2 separate regions of the Homo sapiens genome follow, and region 2 is linked to region 1. Evidence: promoter capture Hi-C in human tissues and cell types (Jung and others, 2019). All regions are on one chromosome and are shown on one strand. The core of a region is centred on a gene start or on the middle of the fragment in contact, and the rest is flanking DNA. Distances in the headings are between cores, read along the strand shown.

Region 1 (3,152 bases), core at 273-2,772:
GACGGGAATTTGAATTCACAAAGAAATGCAAATGTAAAGACTTAAGATGGAGCAGAAACAAAGAACATAAGGATCACCTAGTGCATTGTGTTGGTACATCTCTTAGAAGAAGACAGCACAGGGAATTTGTGAGACACCAAATGCAATTTTTGTTAGTTTATTAGAGAGTAAATAAATAAATAATGATACCGAACTCCAACAAAACTCCAGCACTGTCCGTGGGCAGCGACTATTCAGCCCAAGCTATCATTCTTAATTTCCCTGCCAGGCTGCGACTACCGGGGTGAATCAGCCCGCGCCAGGCCCCTTTCCCACCCGCCGCTGCAGTTAGGACTTGGCAAAGATGCTCGATATTTGCGTATTTGTGACCGGTCTTTGCTTTGTGTCTGCGCTGCAGGTGAGGAGGAGGAAGAGAAGCAGAAGAGCAGCTGGAGGCCGGCGGTGGCTGAGCAGCCCCCACACCTTTGAGCGAGCCGCCTGCCTCTCCACCGGCAAGGAAGCCCTGGGACCTCCGGATTCGGGCTGCCGGAGGGCCTGAGCGCCAGAGCCCAGGACCCGGCGGCCGGGGGCGCCATCCCCTCATGTTCTGGAGAAGGCGCAAATGTGAGCTGGCGGTAGCGGGGAAAGCCCTCCGCCCCCGCCAGGGGGGACCCGGGAAGCCCGGCCGGCTCTGTCGGCAGACTGCGGGGATCCCCTCCTCCGGCCCCGCCCCCACCCACCCCCGGCCGGGGTGCCGAGGCGGTTAACCCTACCCGCGCCGCAGCGCACTTGGGCTAGAGCGCCGCGCACCCAATCCAGATTCCAGAGCCTGCCGGCTGGGAAAGATCCGGTCTCGGGGTCGGCTATGATCCCGCAGCGGCCAAGGCAGGGCTCAGGCCCCGGGATTCTCCCCACACGCTGCTGCACTGGCGCAGCCGGTCGCCAAACTTTTTCTCCCCAAAGCCAGTGCCCCCGCAGTTACTTGGCGGGCAGCCGGCAGCCCACTCTCGGCGGGATGATCTGGGAGAAGCGGGCGTGGGACGAGGGGGCTGCTGTTTTGCAGCCCTGCGAGGCGTGCAGTCGGAGAAGTGGTCGGGGTTCCACACCGTCCCTGAGCCTGCCCCCGGCCAAGGTGGCCCGACGTGCTGCAGTGGCTGGCGCAGGTGATCCGGGCAGCGCGTCCGGCACTAGTCAAGGGGGCAGCGGCACGGGAGGGAGGGGCGCCTTTCTCTTTTCTCCTCCCCCTGCAGCCCAGCTGCACTGCGTGGGGGCTCTCCATCTCCACGCAATCAGCAGGCGGAATCCCTGCCCTGGAGCGCCCTGGCTCTGGACTGCACCCCCCTAGGGTTTGTCCTGCAGATTCCCCTCCCCATCTTTCTCTGCCACACACGCTTCCCTAAGCCGCGCGCGCCGCAAACTCAGTCTCGGTCCCCGCAGGTGATGTCATGCCCATTGTTTTGGTGCGCCCAACCAATCGGACTCGCCGCCTGGATTCTACCGGAGCCGGCATGGGCCCTTCCTCGCACCAGCAGCAGGAGTCCCCGCTCCCGACCATAACGCATTGCGCAGGGTGCACCACCGCTTGGTCTCCCTGCAGCTTTAACAGCCCTGACATGGAAACCCCATTGCAGTTCCAGCGCGGCTTCTTCCCAGAGCAGCCGCCGCCGCCGCCGCGCTCCTCACACCTGCATTGCCAGCAGCAGCAACAGAGCCAGGACAAGCCGTGCCCGCCCTTCGCGCCCCTCCCGCACCCTCACCACCACCCGCACCTCGCGCACCAGCAGCCGGCCAGCGGCGGCAGCAGCCCATGCCTCCGGTGCAACAGCTGCGCCTCCTCCGGTGCCCCGGCGGCGGGGGCGGGAGATAACCTGTCCCTGCTGCTCCGCACCTCCTCGCCCGGCGGCGCCTTCCGGACCCGCACCTCCTCGCCGCTGTCGGGCTCGTCCTGCTGCTGCTGCTGCTGCTCGTCGCGCCGGGGCAGCCAGCTCAATGTGAGCGAGCTGACGCCGTCCAGCCATGCCAGTGCGCTCCGGCAGCAGTACGCGCAGCAGTCCGCGCAGCAGTCGGCGTCCGCCTCCCAGTACCACCAGTGCCACAGCCTGCAGCCCGCCGCCAGCCCCACGGGCAGCCTCGGCAGTCTGGGCTCCGGGCCCCCGCTCTCGCACCACCACCACCACCCGCACCCGGCGCACCACCAGCACCACCAGCCCCAGGCGCGCCGCGAGAGCAACCCCTTCACCGAAATAGCCATGAGCAGCTGCAGGTACAACGGGGGCGTCATGCGGCCGCTCAGCAACTTGAGCGCGTCCCGCCGGAACCTGCACGAGATGGACTCAGAGGCGCAGCCCCTGCAGCCCCCCGCGTCTGTCGGAGGAGGTGGCGGCGCGTCCTCCCCGTCTGCAGCCGCTGCCGCCGCCGCCGCTGTTTCGTCCTCAGCCCCCGAGATCGTGGTGTCTAAGCCCGAGCACAACAACTCCAACAACCTGGCGCTCTATGGAACCGGCGGCGGAGGCAGCACTGGAGGAGGCGGCGGCGGTGGCGGGAGCGGGCACGGCAGCAGCAGTGGCACCAAGTCCAGCAAAAAGAAAAACCAGAACATCGGCTACAAGCTGGGCCACCGGCGCGCCCTGTTCGAAAAGCGCAAGCGGCTCAGCGACTACGCGCTCATCTTCGGCATGTTCGGCATCGTGGTCATGGTCATCGAGACCGAGCTGTCGTGGGGCGCCTACGACAAGGTACAGGCTTGAACCCCAGCCCACGCTACCGGAGTCGGGCACTGGGTGGTTGGGATGGGCACTGGCGGGGACCCTTTGCGTGCGGATCCCTAGCCTCTCCGGGACGATCAAGGGAGCCCGCCAGGACAGCGGGCGCGTCTAGGACGCGCATCCGTAGTCAGCTAAACAACTCGGAGATGAACCCTTTCCGCGTGCAGCCAAAGTTCTCGAGGCAGTTAAGAGTGCTCAGCGCATTCGGGCACCTTAAGTAAGTGGTTCTGGAAGTCGGTGGGGAAACCATCTGTAATTCATCCCCTCGTGAATTATGTTTAGAAGGGCCCTTTCAACCCGCTCTCTTGAACTCAGAAGTAAGTTCCTCTGGTTTTGCTAGCCTGGAACAGCGGCGCTCGCTTCGGTCCTCTATGGCGTGGACCCAGCAGCCCAGCCACGCGTCTTCCC
Region 2 (3,024 bases), core at 405-2,904, 100 kb after region 1:
TGAAAATAAGAATCCAGGGTCAATTTTAATGTCCCAGTAGTAACAAGATGGCCATTTCAAGTCCCAATTGTAGAAAATATAGTTTGGGGGCATAATTTAACATTATTTGCCTTTAAAAGAAAAATAATAGTTTTAATTATAGTGAACTTTAAAAAAAAAAACGGTATGCTGCATTATCTGTTTGTTTACTATTGGATCACTTCCCCTTTTTTCCTCAAATAATAGCATTTTATTATGTGGTATAATGCTTTGGGAAATGTAATTTGCATAGATTATTTTTAGGAGGCCCATAACAAGTCCACAAGGGATATAAATGATGCTATTTATAAAAACTAGTAATTGCAGAGTCTTTCCCCTAGTGCTTCTTAGAAACAACTTCCTTAGTGTTACTTTTTGTCAAGATGGTACCCTCTTTTATTCTCCAATCAGGTGTGACTCAAGGGTCATGTGCACAGGCTTATTTGCCATGGAATCTGAGCCAAATTTGAGGTTAACCTTGCCTGGGTTTTACAAAATGTTTATCGTTCCTTGATATTTTCTTGTTCCTCGTGTCTCAAAAACTGTTCCTTCAAAGTCTCATCAGATAGTACAAATCTTTTATTTACCTTCTTGAACTGCCTCTTGCTCAGGTTTCACTACTGATCTTACTTTGCTTAAAAAAGAGAGGTTATGGCCTGGCACTGTGTCCCACGCCTGTAATCCCAACACTTTGGGAGGCCGAGGCAGGTGGATCACCTGAGGTTGGGAGTTCGAGACCAACCTGACCAACATGGAGAAACCCCCTCTCTACTAAAAATACAGAATTAGCCAGGTGTGGTGGCACATGCCTATAATCCCAGCTATTCAGGAGGCTGAGGCAGGAGAATCTCTTGAACGTGGGAGGCGGAGGTTGCAGTGAGCCGAGATTGCGCCATGGCACTCTAGCCTGGGCAACAAGAGTGAAACTCCATCATCTCAAAAAAAAAAAAAGAGAGAGGTTATAGTACCATTAAATATATGTGGACACAAAAATGTTATATGTAATGGAATTTATGGTGACTTCGTTCCAGCCCTTAAGCTTATGGTAAAAGAGTCCCTCTATTCTTAGGCTGAGGAGCTCCATTCCCTCTCCTTCATAAGGATCAGACTTATTTCCTAATTAATTGACTTGATCAAAATTGGTTTACTTGCATACAGAGAAATTCACTAATATTTGAGTAACATATTTGAGATGCTCTGTAGAGTTGGATTATCTCTTCTTCTAGACTAAGCAGATTCCCATGGAGTCAGGCTACGGGGCAGTCTTCCTGGGATTCACTTCTGGCAGTTGATTACATCTTACATCAGCTCCTTAGGGATCAAGAGCATATGGATGAAAGTGACCTAGACACTCCTATGGAGAATGTAGAAATTTCTTCATTACCAAGACCAATATGGGAATTAAAGCTTAAGAGACCAAGATCTCTTATTATTATTTTTATAAAATAAGTCATGAGATTGCCTAATAGAAGAAATAAAAGAAAACCACTCACTACCCTTCAAGAGAAAACCATTATGGTTGTAATTACTTATTTTCTCTTTTTATTCTTCTACCCTTCTGCTATTTGAGGAAGTACTGAAGACCTGAGGGTTTACTATTGTAAAGGTCATGATAAACAATGGGATGATTTCTGAGTAGCTTTGTACTTTTGGTTGAAGATGGTAGGCAAGTAATATGGTTAGATCACAGTGTCTATCAGCTTTTGGACAGCACCAGCTAGTTTCTCAATGTCTCCAATTTTCCAATAAAGTAATTGTTTTACTTAGCATTTACAAAGTTATTTTATCTTCCTAGAAATATATATATATATATATAAAACACATCCTGAAAGCTATGAATTCTCCCACAACTATGAATATATATGATTGTTTCAAGAGTGAAAAATAGCCTTGTGGGTAAGGGTATCTTTCATCTTATACTGGAATTAAGGTTGCTCATTTGTTCTTTTTGCTTCTCTATTTCTGTAAAATTACAGTGACTCTTGGTGGCCTTTTGACTAGAGTATGGATGACTGGATTTTTTGGTTTAATTATCTTTAAATATCGAGTAATATCTGTTCATTCCTAGGGATGCAGGTTGTTATTCAATAAATGGTTCTCTAATAGTGATTTATAAACCACTAGACTTTGACAACATCTAGCATGACTCCCTCAACAAAACTGAGGACACTTCAGATATCAGTGATTTAGGTTTCTTCCATCCCACTAGTAGTTCTATGTAAACAAAAGCAATGCGTAAAGCTTTCGCAGTTCATAGCAATTTGAAAATCACTACGCTAATTAAATTTTAAAATTTTCTTCAAGGAGCAAAAAAACAAGTCAGTTCAGGACAGAAGCCTTTACACAGCCTTGCCTTTTCCTTAAGATTTGATAATAATCCTTTCCACGTTAAATTTGCCCTGTGCCGAGGAAATCTTAATTTAACATCACATGGTGACTCCATTAGTTGTCAGTTAAACAAACAGTTTGCATCCTGAAGAGCAAAAACACTACCCTGTTAAGTCGCTAAGAGGGTGTTCCAAAACAGCACGAATTAGCTAGAGCTCATAAAAAAGAAGTGATTGGTATGAAAGAATGCGAAACCTAAGGTCTGATTATACTCCTCTTCCTGTAACACTCTCTGTTTCCATTTGAGGATTTGTTTTCCCCCGCCAGTGTACATAGAAATCCTGCAAAACTGATCTGAAGCCATTCCTTAGTGTTGAATGTTTGAGAATGTGCAAAACACTCAAGGATTTTTAAAAATGTCTTACACAATTTGACATTGGGTGTTTAATTTTGAAGAGGTTTTAACTTTTGTATTGCTTGCTTTTTGGTTCTTTCTGGTGCGTTCACTGAATCTCATCAGATAAAGCCCCAGTGAAGAGAGTATATCTTTAAGTTCTTACATACAATAGTTTCTATTTTGTGCAGAGCAGCTGGAGGAGATGGGCCTTTTCAGTCATAAGGCTAAATTCCCCACCAATGTCCTTTCTTGAGGACCTTCACTTCCCACCAAGAAATTTC

The links. Contacts are between HindIII fragments. The study calls those that stand out against the background at their distance.
Region 2: a fragment that was not itself captured here is called in contact with the fragment with the promoter of KCNN2 in region 1 in 2 of the 25 tissues and cell types used here (adrenal gland and hippocampus).

What each region holds. Positions count from the first base shown.
Region 1 is chr5:114,360,548-114,363,699 of GRCh38, forward strand. KCNN2 (potassium calcium-activated channel subfamily N member 2) reads left to right here and starts at 1,523. Exons shown (of 8, transcript NM_021614.4): 1 at 1,523-2,714. The coding sequence starts at 1,593. RefSeq lists an enhancer at 1-552 and a silencer at 591-800. The HindIII fragment of the contact is 16,034 bases long and covers 1-3,152 here.
Region 2 is chr5:114,464,660-114,467,683 of GRCh38, forward strand. The region is part of intron 4 of KCNN2 (potassium calcium-activated channel subfamily N member 2); the gene reads left to right. All of the region lies in intron 11 of LOC101927078 (a long non-coding RNA gene), which reads right to left. Among named protein-coding and RNA genes, the nearest start is that of KCNN2, 100 kb to the left of the region's middle. The HindIII fragment of the contact is 3,136 bases long and covers 87-3,024 here.